Regions from separate parts of the Homo sapiens genome. Here all the other regions are linked to region 4. The links are contacts of gene promoters, found by promoter capture Hi-C in human tissues and cell types (Jung and others, 2019). All regions are on one chromosome and are shown on one strand. Each heading gives the region's core, a stretch centred on a gene start or on the middle of the fragment in contact. The rest is flanking DNA. Distances are from core to core; before and after follow the strand shown. Region 1 overlaps PTPN23 (protein tyrosine phosphatase non-receptor type 23). Region 2 holds the start of CSPG5 (chondroitin sulfate proteoglycan 5). Region 3 holds the start of ELP6 (elongator acetyltransferase complex subunit 6). Region 4 holds the start of CDC25A (cell division cycle 25A).

The links. The method cuts DNA at HindIII sites, captures the fragments that hold promoters and counts their contacts. A contact is called where the count stands out against the background at its distance.
Region 1: a fragment that was not itself captured here is called in contact with the fragment with the promoter of CDC25A in region 4 in 1 of the 25 tissues and cell types used here (heart left ventricle).
Region 2: a contact is called between the fragment with the promoter of CSPG5 here and the fragment with the promoter of CDC25A in region 4, in 3 of the 25 tissues and cell types used here (IMR-90 fibroblasts, hippocampus and pancreas).
Region 3: the fragment with the promoter of ELP6 here is called in contact with the fragment with the promoter of CDC25A in region 4 in 1 of the 25 tissues and cell types used here (pancreas).

Annotation. Positions count from the first base shown.
Region 1 is chr3:47,390,636-47,393,640 of GRCh38, forward strand. All of the region lies in intron 1 of PTPN23 (protein tyrosine phosphatase non-receptor type 23), which reads left to right. Among named protein-coding and RNA genes, the nearest start is that of PTPN23-DT, 11 kb to the left of the region's middle. The HindIII fragment of the contact is 5,453 bases long and covers 1-3,005 here.
Region 2 is chr3:47,577,337-47,580,127 of GRCh38, forward strand. It overlaps CSPG5 (chondroitin sulfate proteoglycan 5), which reads right to left and starts at 1,529. Exons shown (of 5, transcript NM_006574.4): 1 at 1,261-1,529; 2 at 1-592. The coding sequence starts at 1,357. RefSeq lists silencers at 740-829, 880-939, 980-1,029 and an enhancer at 2,154-2,791. The HindIII fragment of the contact is 21,614 bases long and covers 1-2,791 here.
Region 3 is chr3:47,512,426-47,515,414 of GRCh38, forward strand. It overlaps ELP6 (elongator acetyltransferase complex subunit 6), which reads right to left and starts at 1,287. Exons shown (of 7, transcript NM_001031703.3): 1 at 1,112-1,287. The coding sequence starts at 1,165. RefSeq lists enhancers at 702-811, 1,142-1,251. The HindIII fragment of the contact is 13,702 bases long and covers 1-2,989 here.
Region 4 is chr3:48,186,833-48,189,862 of GRCh38, forward strand. It overlaps CDC25A (cell division cycle 25A), which reads right to left and starts at 1,585. Exons shown (of 15, transcript NM_001789.3): 1 at 946-1,585. The coding sequence starts at 1,115. RefSeq lists an enhancer at 670-1,298 and a silencer at 1,042-1,251. The HindIII fragment of the contact is 16,525 bases long and covers 1-3,030 here.

The sequences.
Region 1 (3,005 bases), core at 13-2,512, 800 kb before region 4:
GGAACTTCACCCAGCCTCTTTCTTCTTTTTTAGTGGAGGAGTGATCAGCAGTCACAGAGGATTTTGTTAGGGTTTTAAAAACATCCTTTTGCTTCTAACAGGCTGCAAATAATAATAATAACATAAATATCCTGGCTGCTCCACTGACTCACTGTGTGGCCAGGGATTCATTTTCTGTGCCTGTTTTTCAGAGTTGTTTGTAAGAACCATATTTTTAAAAAATAGAAATGCTCTGGGAGGCTGATGTGGGTCAACTGCTTGAGCCCAGGAGTTTAAGACCAGACTGGGCAACATAGTGAGACTCCCATCTCTATAAAATAAAAAAAAGTTTGGGCGTGATGGCTCATGTCTGTAATCCCAACACTTTGGGAGTCTGAGGCAGAAGGATTGCTTGAGGCTAGAAGTTCCAGACCAGCCTGGGCAATATAGCAAGACACTACCTCTACAGAAAATTAGCTGAGTATGGTGGTATGTGCCTGTAGTTCCGGCTTCTTGGAAGGCTGAGGCAGGAGAATTACTTGGACCCAGGAGTTTGAGACTGCAGTGAGCTATGGTTGCAGTACCACTGTAACTCCAGCCTGGGCAACAGAACAAGACCTTGTCTCGAAAATAAAATAAAACAATAAAAAATAAACTAAAAACAATTTAAATAGAAATGGAATGGTCTAATATGGAAAGAACATGGGCTCTGGAGCCCAAATGCCTGGGTTTCAGTCATATCCCCATCAGTTATTAGCACCGTGACCTTGGTGAATACCCTAACTCTTTGCCTCAGTTTCCTCATTTCCTCATCTGTAAAGTGGTGATGATAATAGTGTCTACCTCTTAGGGTTGTTCTAAGGATGGAGTGATTACTAGGCACTCAGCACAGTGCCTGACCTGTGGTAGGTTCTCAGTTAAGCATCTGCTGCTGATCTTATAGGAGGACGGAGATGAGATTCAGATAGAATGTGACCTCTAGGCATGATTTGCTAGGGGTGGGAGCAGCATCTTTCTGTCACCATTGTGTGAACAGCAGGGTCAGATGTTCCTAGTGATATCACGGGAAGCCTTGTTTCTAGGATGTAGGAGTCTCCTGTCCATCTGATTCCTTTGGCCTCTATCCCACGAGACCTCTGAGCTACACTTTTACTCATTTTCTCTAACCTAAGGGTGGGCAAAACCTCTTACTGCAAGGGAGTTAACCACAGAACATTCTCTCATATAGTCAAGTTTTACCTCATAGCTTAGGCCACATTTTAAAAAATATTTTAGTTAATTAATTATTTTTGAGATAGTGTCACACTCTCACCCAGGCTGGAGTGCAGTGGCACAATCATGGTTCACTGCAACCTTGAACTCCTGGTGTCAAGCAGTCCTCTCACCTCAACCTCCCAACTGGCCAAGAGTATAGGCGCACACCACCACACGTGGCTAATTCTTGTGCTTTTTGTAGAAATGGGGTTTTGCCATGTTGCCCAGGCTTGTCTTGAACTCCTGGGCTCAAACGATCGGCCCACCTTGGCCTCCCAAACTGCTGGGATTACAGGCATGAGCCACTGTGCCTGGCCTATTTTTATTTTTTAATACAGACAGGGTCTCACTCTGACACCCCAGCTGAAGTAAGGTGGTGCCATCATAGCTCACTGCAGCTTCAAACTCCTGAGCTTAAGCAGTCCTGCCTCAGCCTCCCAACTAGCTGAGACCACAGGCATGCACCACCACTCCTGGCTAATTTTTAAATTTTTTTTCGTAGAGATGGGGGTCTCGCCATATTGCCCAGGCTGGTCTGGAACTCCTAGCCTCAAGTGATCCTCTCACCCCAGCCTACCAAAGTGCTGGGATTATAGTCATGAGCCATCATGCCCAACCCAAGGCCACTTTTTGTAGTTGTGTTTTTGTTGTTGTTGTTGTCATAATTATTTTTGAGGGAGGGAGTGGAGAGGGGGTGGAGTTGGATAGATCAGAGTGAAGATTGTTAAATGCCTGTCAGCTCCCTAAAGTTCTTGGTAAATCCTTATGTTTGTGCATAGTTGAAAATTTCTAGGGGGATTTAATTCATGGCTTTTATCATATTCTCAAAGGACCCACAAAAGGCTAAATAAAAACCACTGATAGGGGAAAGTGGTATTCAGGTACCATTTAGCTCTTCAGCAACTCTTAAGACATTTGTTTTCCAAATTTCAAACATATAGAAAAATTGGAAGAATAATTCAGTGCTCACCCAAATTCTCACTATCTAGTATTTTTGTTTTGTTTTGTTTTTAGAGATGGGATTTACTCTTTGTTGCCCAGGCTGGACTTGAACTGCTAGGCTCAAGTGATCCTCCTGCCTCAGCCTCTGGAGTAGCTGAGACTACAGATGTGCGCTGCACCTGGCTGATTCATTTTTAAATTTTTGTAGAGATGGGATTTATTGTTATGTTGCCCAGTCTGGCCTTGAACTCTTGGGGTCAAGTGATCCTCTGGCCTCGGCCTCCCAAAGTGCTGGAAGTACAGGTGTGAACCACTGCACCCAGTGTGTTACCTAGTTTTGTTTGTTTGTTTTGTTTTTTTAAGATGGAGTCTTGCTGTGTGGCCAAGGCTGGAGTGCAGTGTTGTAATCTCAGCTCACTGCAACCTCCCCCTCCTGAGTTCAAGCGATTCTCCTGTCTCAGCCTCCTGAGAAGTTGGGATTACAGGTGCCCACCACCATGCCTGGCTAATTTTTGTGTTTTTAGTAGAGATGGGGTTTCACCATGTTGGTCAGGCTGGTCTCGAACTCCTGACCTCAAGTGATCCACCTGCCTTGGCCTCCCAAAGTGTTGGGATTACAGGCATAAGCCACTGTGCCCGGCTACCTAGTTTTGATGGATGTATTTCACCTTATTTGTTTTCTCTCCAGATAGATAGATAGATAGAGAGAGATCCCACAAGCCCTTTGAAAGTAAGTTTTGGACATCACTTTTCCCGGACACATCTCAGCATGTGTTTCCTAAGAGTGAGGACATTCTACACAATCACAATGTTATTATCATACCTAAGAA
Region 2 (2,791 bases), core at 279-2,778, 610 kb before region 4:
CCTGGGAAGCTCCCCAGATCTGCGCCACGACCCTCACCATCCAGTCCTTCGAAGTAGTCGATGTCAATGATATCTGATGCCGGTTGGGGCTCCAGGGTGCCCTGAAATGGGTAAGTCAGCTCTGGCCCTTGAGGGTCGGGTGTGCTGCCCCCCAGGTTCAGCCAAACCTCCAAGGGGCTCTCCTTGGGGAGTTCAGAAGCTGGGCTCAGCTTGTCGCCGGGGGTGGGGGAGGGTGGCCCGCTGGCCTCTGTAGCCTCAGGAATGGCAGGGGGCATGATTGACTGCCCGAGGACCTCGTGGGGAGCCTGGAGCGTAGCTGGAAGGGCCTGGGCATCGCCGCTGCCCGCCTCTGCGGTCACTCCTCCCAGGCCTGGGCTGTCAGCTTCCAGCCAGGCGGTGCCGGTCACCGCAGCCGACTCCTGCAGCACCTCTTCTGGCCCGGCCAGCTCGCCACCGGGCGCCGTCCACGACGCCTCATCTTCCCCAGCCGCTGGTGGGCCGGCTTCTTCCCGCGTGTCGTTGGCAGGCGGCTCCCACGCCGGGCTGCCCTTCACCAGCTCTTCGGCCTCAACCGCGCTGCCCGCCTCACGCGCTGCGGGCGGGAGGGCAAGGGGCGGGACGTCAGGGCGGCGCGCTGAGGAGCCCTGGAGCCCCGGCCCGCCCCGGTCAGGCCCGCTCGCCTAGACCTGGTCAACCCAGACCTCGCCACCCTCAGACCCCACCGCCCCAGTGTGACCCCAGCCACCCGGTACCTCTAAGCCCCGTCCCGGAGTCTGCCCCCAAGACGAGGATCACACCCCGCCCAACGCCTCGCGGCTCGGCCCCGCCCGACCTGCCCCGCCGTCTGAAGAGCCAGGCCAGGGCGGCCCCCAGCTCGGCCCACCCATAAGTCTCACCCTCGGGAACCCACCCTGAGCCGCGTCCACTGGCTCCCGCCCTCAGCTCCAGGTCCCGCCCCGAAGTCTCACCCTCAGGCCCCGCCCCGGCCCCGCCCCGGCCCCGCCCCCGGCCCCGCCCCCAGTCCGCACCGCGGCCCGCGCGCTTGGGTCCCGGCTACCCCAACCGGGGTCGGCCCCCACGCGGGTCGGCCTTTCCCGGACCCCCACCACCTCCTGGGACCATTCCGCCGCCCGGCCGCGGCCAGGCGGTGCCCCGCCCCCTTGCCACAGCTCACAGCTCCACCTGTCCCCGCCGCCAGCGGGACCCCTGCCCTGGGTGGGGCACGAGGGCCGCGGGGGTCCCGGGCGCAGTCATACCTACCCGGCACGGCCCCAGAGGCCAGGACCAGCGCGGCCCCCAGAAACAGCAGCAGTGGCGGCGGCCCCCGGCCCGGGCCCCCGCCCCCGGCTCGCCCCATGGCGCGGCGCCCCGACCGCTGTCCGCGGTCCGCCCGGCTGGCTGCGCCCTCGGCTCGCCCGGCCGCCGCGCCTCCCGCCGGTTCTGCGGCCGCCTCAGCCCACGATGGGCAGCGCGAGGAGCCGCATGCCGCCGCCGCCGCCGTCCGCCGCTGTCCCCGGCGCGCCGCGCCTCCCCGCCTCCCGCGCCGCCGCTGCCGCCGCTGCGCTCAGCGCCGCCCTCACCCCGCCCGCCGCGCCGGCCCCGCCGCACGTAGCGGTGACGCCGGCCCCTTGGTCAGCCTGCCAGGGGAACAGACAGACCCCTCGCTGGGGACTAGGAGACACACGGACGGGGAGTGCGGGGCAGGCGGACGGGGAGCGCGAGGCAGGCGCACGGCGCGGCGCGCGGCGTTAGGCGGCAGGTGCACGGGCGGGAGACCTGTGGGATGGGGCCACGGTCCCGCCCCAGGTGAACAGGCGGCACGGGGCCCCGACCCGGAGGAACCCACCCGCCACGCGGCAAGCACGGAGGCGGGGACGTCGCGGGCCCAGTTACCCGCAGGGTCGGGGCGGGGTCCAGAAGAGCCGCAGGGGGCGGAAGCACGAGCCCCCACTGTGGAAACAAGCCAGGCCCGGGGCGCATGGAGCCTCTCGGATTCTGCACCAATCCCGTGTTCCGGGCGGGAAGGCTCTCAGGGAGGTCTCCGGGTCTCCACGAGGGAGGGGCGGGCGTTGGCAGAGCCTGGCAAGGGGGCGAAGCCGACCGCCCAGGCTCTAATCGGATCAGATCTAATCCGTTCGCAGCCAAAGCCACTAGCCTAGATCTCGCACAGCCAGGCCCGCCATAACGCATCCCGGGAGCAAGGGGTAAGACCCTCCCTGGGACTGCGGCTACCTCGCCTTCCTTCTAGTCTCCGGGCAGCCTGGGGAGCGGCCTTTAATCCTGGTCCCTTCTCCGGGATACGTCGTCCCCCAGGTGTCTCAGACCACCAAAACTCAGGTTCCTGGGTAGACCAGGGGGGTCTAGATCCCCAGCCGGGCACACATGGATGCTTGGCTTTAGAGTGATCTGTGGGGCCCATTCACAGCTTCAGGGCTCACAGGGCAACCCAAGACCACGCACCAGGAGGTCTGCTTAGTCGGCAGGAGGAACCGCAACCTAGTTACTTAGTTTATTCCCCCAAACCGACCGTCTACCCCTTAATGTGTTACTCACCCAAATGACAGTTCAGGGTATCAGCCCAAGGAGATAGGACAACTCCAGTATTTAAGAGACGGTCCCATTGCTGTCTTAGAAGACCAAATAAGTGACCAAGATGGAGATTCTATCTCCTAATCTTTCTGATACATATCTCCAGATGGAGTTGCCTTGGTTCAAAACCTGTTTCTCAGCAGAACTATGGCTGCAGCCTATTTGCCTAGCCTAGCGTCTCCACCTCTCCTGCCTGGTAAAC
Region 3 (2,989 bases), core at 37-2,536, 670 kb before region 4:
CCTGCAATCCCAGCTACTTGGGAGGCTGAATAAGGAGAATCACTTGAACCCGGGAGGTGAGGTTGCAGGGAGCCGAGATCGCGCCAGTGCACTCCAGCCCAGGCGAGGGAGCGAGACTCCATCAAAAATAAATAAATAAATAAATAAGCCAAAAGATACACTCCTGAAAGAGGTTACTCCTACGTTAAAATGTGAAAGGTTTCAAGGTACCCCGGAGTGTGAGGAGGGTGGAGAGAACAGGCCAGCCTGGGGTGCCCAAGACGGACTTGGTCCAAGCCAATTTGGCTCTGTCCTGCTTCTAACAGTTCTATTAGAGATCACAAGGAGGAAGAGTAAGAAGAACAGCAGCGTTCAATACAATGTGCCAATTGCTCCGGGGCGAGGTGGCGGTTAGGAAGCTCGCCCATGAAGACGGCGGCGAAACGAACTCCCCTCTCCTCTCGGGCCTATTCTGCAGTCTCCTCTGAGCGCCTGGGACCCCCCACCCCAGTGAACATGCACAGCGCGCCACAGTTCACGTCCGCGAATATAACCCAACCCCACTGTCGGCCATGCTTCCCAGGTACTTTTTTTTTTTTTTTTTGAGGTGGAGTCCCGCTCTGTCGCCCAGGCTGGAGTGCGGTGGCGAGATCTCGGGTCACTGCAACCTCCGCCTCCCGGGTTCAAGCAATTCTCCTGTCTCAGCCTCCCGAGTAGCTGAGATTACAGGCATGAGCCACCACGCCCGGCTAATTTTTGTATTTTTCGTAGAGACGGGGGTTTCACCATCTTGGCCAGACTTGTCTCGAACTCTTGACCTTAGATGATGCACCCGCCTCGGCCTCCCAAACTGCTGGGATTACAGGGGTGAGCCACCGCGCCCGGCCGCTTCCCAGGGACTTTTAAGGACACGCACAGCCGTTGAGAATATGCGAGATGGCCCAGAAGCCCACTTTCGGCGGGCCCAAGCCTCCAGTCCAATCCCCGGGTCGATCCTCTGCGGACTACAACTCCCAGGTACCCCGTGCCGGGTCGTCGCGCCATTCCCCGGGGTCGTGCGCACCGCCTCCCGGATGCAGTATTCCGCTGCCCTGCCAGGTCCCGCCCCCTTCCGGCCAGCGGGACCTCTTACCTGCTCCGCCCTGTCGGGGGTGGTGTTAAGCAGGTTATTAAGTTCCACGAACATTCCGAGCTCCTGGGACTAGCGCTCTGGAGGAGAACCCGGAGTGCTGCAGAGACGACGGAGGCTGGAGAGCAAAACACACCCGACAGCCCGGCTCGCGCAAGGAAGCGCGCATGCGCAATGCCACTTTTGCGAGCCAGCCACAGCCAATGAGGCGGGTGCCTCGATGGGACCGCTGCGCACGCGCGTAGACGTCCGTCGAGTCCCAGGTGGTAGGAAACGATGGGCTTCTCTGTGCGACTGCCAGCGGCCTCTGGCGGCTCATTCCGCGCAGATCTGCGTGGCGCCCGAGCCCTCCCAGTGGGCCCCCAAGGCTCCACGCGACCGAGTATTCTTCTTCCCTTGGCCTCGCTCTCTGCCCAGCCCCGGGCTCCTTTTCTCCACACGTGGCTGTCAAGCGCCTTCTGTATGCCCCACACTCCTGGGAGCTTGGGCTACATCGATGAACAAAAACAAAGGACAGGGAATTTATTATTATTATTATTATTATTATTATTATTATTATTATTTAATTGAGACGGAGTCTTGCCCTGTCGCCCAGGCTGGAGTGCAGTGGCGCGATCTCGGCTCACTACAGTCTCCGCCTCCTGGGTTCACGCCATTCTCCTGCCTCAGCCTCCCGAGTGTAGCTGGGACTACAGGCGCCCGCCACCACGCCCGGCTAATTTTTTGTATTTTTAGTAGAGACGGGGTTTCACCGTGTTAGCCAGGATGGTCTTGATCTCCCGACCTCGTGATCCGCCGGCCTCGGCCTCCCAAAGTGCTGGGATTACAGGCATGAGCCACCACGCCCGGCCGACACGGAATTATATCTTGAAAAGTTGTGTGGAGAAAAGCAAAGTGGGATTAGAGAGTACCAATGGGGGCAGGGGTAGGTTCCAGAATTAAAGAGGTTGTCAGGGTGGGTCTCACTAAGAAAGTGTGGTTGCGGCTGGGCGCGGTGGCTCACACCTGTAATGCCAGCACTTTGGGAGGCCTAGACGGAGGGATCACGAGGTCAGGAGTTCGAGACTAGCCTGGCCAATATAGTGAAACCCCCTTCTCTATTAAAAATACAAAAAATTAGCCTGGCGTGGTGGGGGGCGCCTGTCATCCCAGCCACTCGGGAGGCTGAGCCAGTAGAATCGCTTGAACCTGGGAGGCAGAGGTTGCAGTAAGCCGAGATCACGCCATTGCTCTCTAGCCTGGGCAGCAGTGTGAGACTTCGTTAAAAAACAGTGTGGTTGCAACACGCCCTGTATGCCTGTCCTCAGAGCCTTTATACTAACTCTTCCCTCTTCCTGGAATGCCCCTTTTCCCAGATATTAAGCTGATTTTAAAATTCCCCACTTCCTTCAGGTCTCTGCTCCGATGTCACTTTATTCGTGAGGCCTTCCCTGAGCACCTTACTTAAATCACAAACTGTCCCTTTCCCAACACTTCTTTTTCCTTGCTTTTATTTTTTTCCATAACATTTATATCTATTATACCGTATATAGTTTTGTTCTAGCCCAATCAGCCTCAGATCAGTGGACAAACCTGTAATTCCACCAAAGTCAAGTTTATTGACAGTCACTAAAATAATTGTTATATGATTTGGGAAAGAGTCGAATTCAGGTGAAATTTAAGTGAACCGGTGTTTGATATGCTCAAAGCACAGCACAGCTGTGTGTGGAGTCCTAATCTGGCGTGGACTGCAAAGGGGACCCAGGGTCATTTCTGTGGAAACTACAAGGTTAAGATCGATGTGGAATGTAATCGTTAGCTGAAGCTCTGCACCTGGGATGGAAATCAAGGCTGCTTCTCTGTGTCAAAGGGATGTAGATCCTTCAGCCAAGAATGAGATGT
Region 4 (3,030 bases), core at 335-2,834:
CACATGCAGGAGATAGGCCATGAGATTAAGAAGCAGCCAGGCTGCCAGAAACCATTTCTAGGCCACACCACAAGTGGCAAAGATCCCACTTTGCCACTCTGAACACCCAATTAGCACTTGGGCAAAGGAGAAAAAAGGAGTGGGTGGGCATGGCCTTGGACCACATTGCAGGTTATGATGGCTATGGCAAATGTTGGGGTATTTCCTAAAATAAAAGCATGTGTTCTAAGTACTGAGACAGAGTCGGGATGAAAGTTGAACAGGACACTTTCTGCTTTTCAGAAGTTGGGAAACGCACAAGACATGTGCTTAGCAAACGGGATGCCAGAGATTGAAGGGAAAGTAGCTCTTCCGCGGGAAACACCGTGGGATGCATTTTTTGCTATCAGGAAAAGCCCAGGAAGCTTTCTGAAAGTTGGGTAAAAAGACCTGGCCTTAGGAAAGCAGCAGAGTGGACATCAGGAATGTGCACAGGGCGAGGGACTGAGATGATTTTACATAAACGCCAGGAAAGAAAATGCCATGGTCCTTTGTTGAGAAGGAACAAAGATCACAGCAAACGAAGATCCTGAGGATGGTTTAGCAAAGGGTGAAAGTGAGTGCCTAGAAGAGCCTGATTTTCCCCGCGGGGGTAGATTCCAAAGAGCTTCCAGGGATAGAGATAGAAGGAGAGTACGGAGCAATCCGAAAGGGGTGAAGGTGGGCCTGGCTCGGGCTTAGGCCCAAGGATCTCCACCTCTTCCCCTGGAAGGTCCCGACGGCCTCTCCCGCCCAACATTCCGCCCGGGCGGGGGTGCACATGGCAGGCCCTAGCCCGGCTGTCCCCGAGCGGCGAACCCGGACGGACGGGTCTCGCCCTTCTCCCGGTCCGTTTCCTGGCCTGATCTCTCCGAGGCCGACACCGAGGCCAGGGGCCCGGAGCACCGCCCGCCGGTCTCTCCTTACCTGCCCAGACCCTGCAGCTGGTCCATAGTGACGGTCAGGTTGGTGACAGGCGACAGTCCCCCGGCGGCTGAAGCGCCAAATAGCGCCTTCACGACGGGCTGCGACGCGGGAGGGGGGCTGCAGGCGAAGAGCAGGCGGCGGCGGTGCGGGGGCTCCGGGCCCAGTTCCATGGCGGCGCCCGGCCTCGCAGAGCTCCCGCTCCCTCTTCCTCTGCCTCCGCCGCGACCGCCCCGCCCCGCCGACACCGGCCTCGGCCGCGCGCCACCGGCGCCCGCGGGTCAAACACAAACACGACTCCGCGGTTCAGGGACGCGGCTGCCGCGGGCAAGCGGCGCGGCCGGGCGGGTGTGCGGACCCTCCAGGCGCCAGCCACCAGCCACAGGCACGGGTGCTTCCCTCTCACACCGCGAGGCCAGCGGGCGGGCGGGCGCCGGCAACCTGAAGATTAAATCCAAACAAACGTGGCGGGTCGGCAAGAGAAGCCGGGCGAGAGCCTCGAGGCAACGGCCCAGGCTCACGCTGTCTTCGCTGTTCTCCCACCCGCTTGCCCAGCTCCGGGTAGCAGAAAACCAAGCCGACCTACACCTCTTACCCAGGCTGTCGCAGCCAGGCCGGCCTTTCGCGGTAATAGCGGCTCAGTGGGGCCAGCTGCTGCCCCGCCCCCCTTTCCTAGTTGGCGCCAAACGGAATCCACCAATCAGTAAGCAACTTCTCCTCCTCTCAACCGAATGGCAGCTAGGCTGGGCCAATGAGAGGGGAAGAAGAAAGCGGCTCGCGGGACTCTGCCAGGTCATCGGCTCTCAGAAGGGGGCGGAGCCCAGAGCAGAAGAGCGGGGATCAAAATGAGAGGGGGAGCAGAGGTCAATGAAAACTCCCAGCAGAACCTGCGAGGCGCTGCTCGCGGCTGAAAGGCCCCTTTGCCCCGTCGCATGCTGGGAAGCGTAGTTCCCATCGCGAGCTGCCGTCCAGTTAGCTTCGGCCCCCTTTGGGCCTCCGCTACCTCGCCCCCAGCCGGGCGCCCCACACTCTGAGGCAATGTGGAGGCTAAGGAAGACCTGTGGAGGTCTGGCCGGATCCAGCCTTGGCTCGGCCTCTAACCGTGCAGTATTGTGGACCCCTTTCTTCCGCCCCGGGCCTCCAGGCCCCATTTTATAATGAGGGAGGGAATGCAATGACCCCCAGGACTGGACTCGACCACCAGGGCCCAACTCTGGAGGGCTCACAGACCCTGGGTGCTGCTGGCCTCATGGGATTTGAACCCCGCAGTACAACCTGTGCTGTGGGCCTCAGCATTTTTTGCTCACTTCCATTCTAGCCCTTATTGGATGCTCTTAGAATCATTTCTTTCTTTCCCACCACTTCTTAGCCCCCTGGGAGCTCCTAGAGAGAAATAACAGCAAACACAATAATAGCAAATAATAGCTAAAGTTTACATAATGCTTATGCACTTGACACTGTTCCCAGTGTGTTAATCTGTATTAATTCATTTAATCTTTACAACTCTGTGACATAGGAATTATCCCCATTTTCTAAGTGGGCATATTTACTTTTACAGCGCCGAACCTGTGGCAGCTCCTAGACGGATTTTGAGGGCCATAAGTGCATGATTTAATTGCAACCTACTGCTGGGCTTAGTGGCTCACGCCTATCATCCCAGCACTTTGGGAGGGCGAGGTGGGAGGATTGCCTGAGCCCACGAATTTGAGACCAGCCTGGGCAACAAAGTGAGACACCCCCTGCCCCCCACTCAAAAAAAAAAAACCCTACAGTTTGAAAAGCCATGCTGGACAGGTGGAAACCCCAAACCTTTGGCCCCAACACCAGACCCTTCACAGTGAGGAACCTCTCTCTCAGGATTCATCTCCTTTTCTGTGCACCAGTGCTCCACCACCCAGGAACCTCCCTTCCCTCCAGAAACCCCAGGCTATTTAGGCCTCTCTGCACAGTTCACATGGTCTGTGGTCCCACTGTTTCAAATAGTTCTCCCTGTCGTATCTCTGAATACTTTCCTCTCCTCCTGTGTTTTATGTGGTTTAATACTTGGCTCAACAGGCCGGGAGCGGTGGCTCACGCCTGTAATCCCAG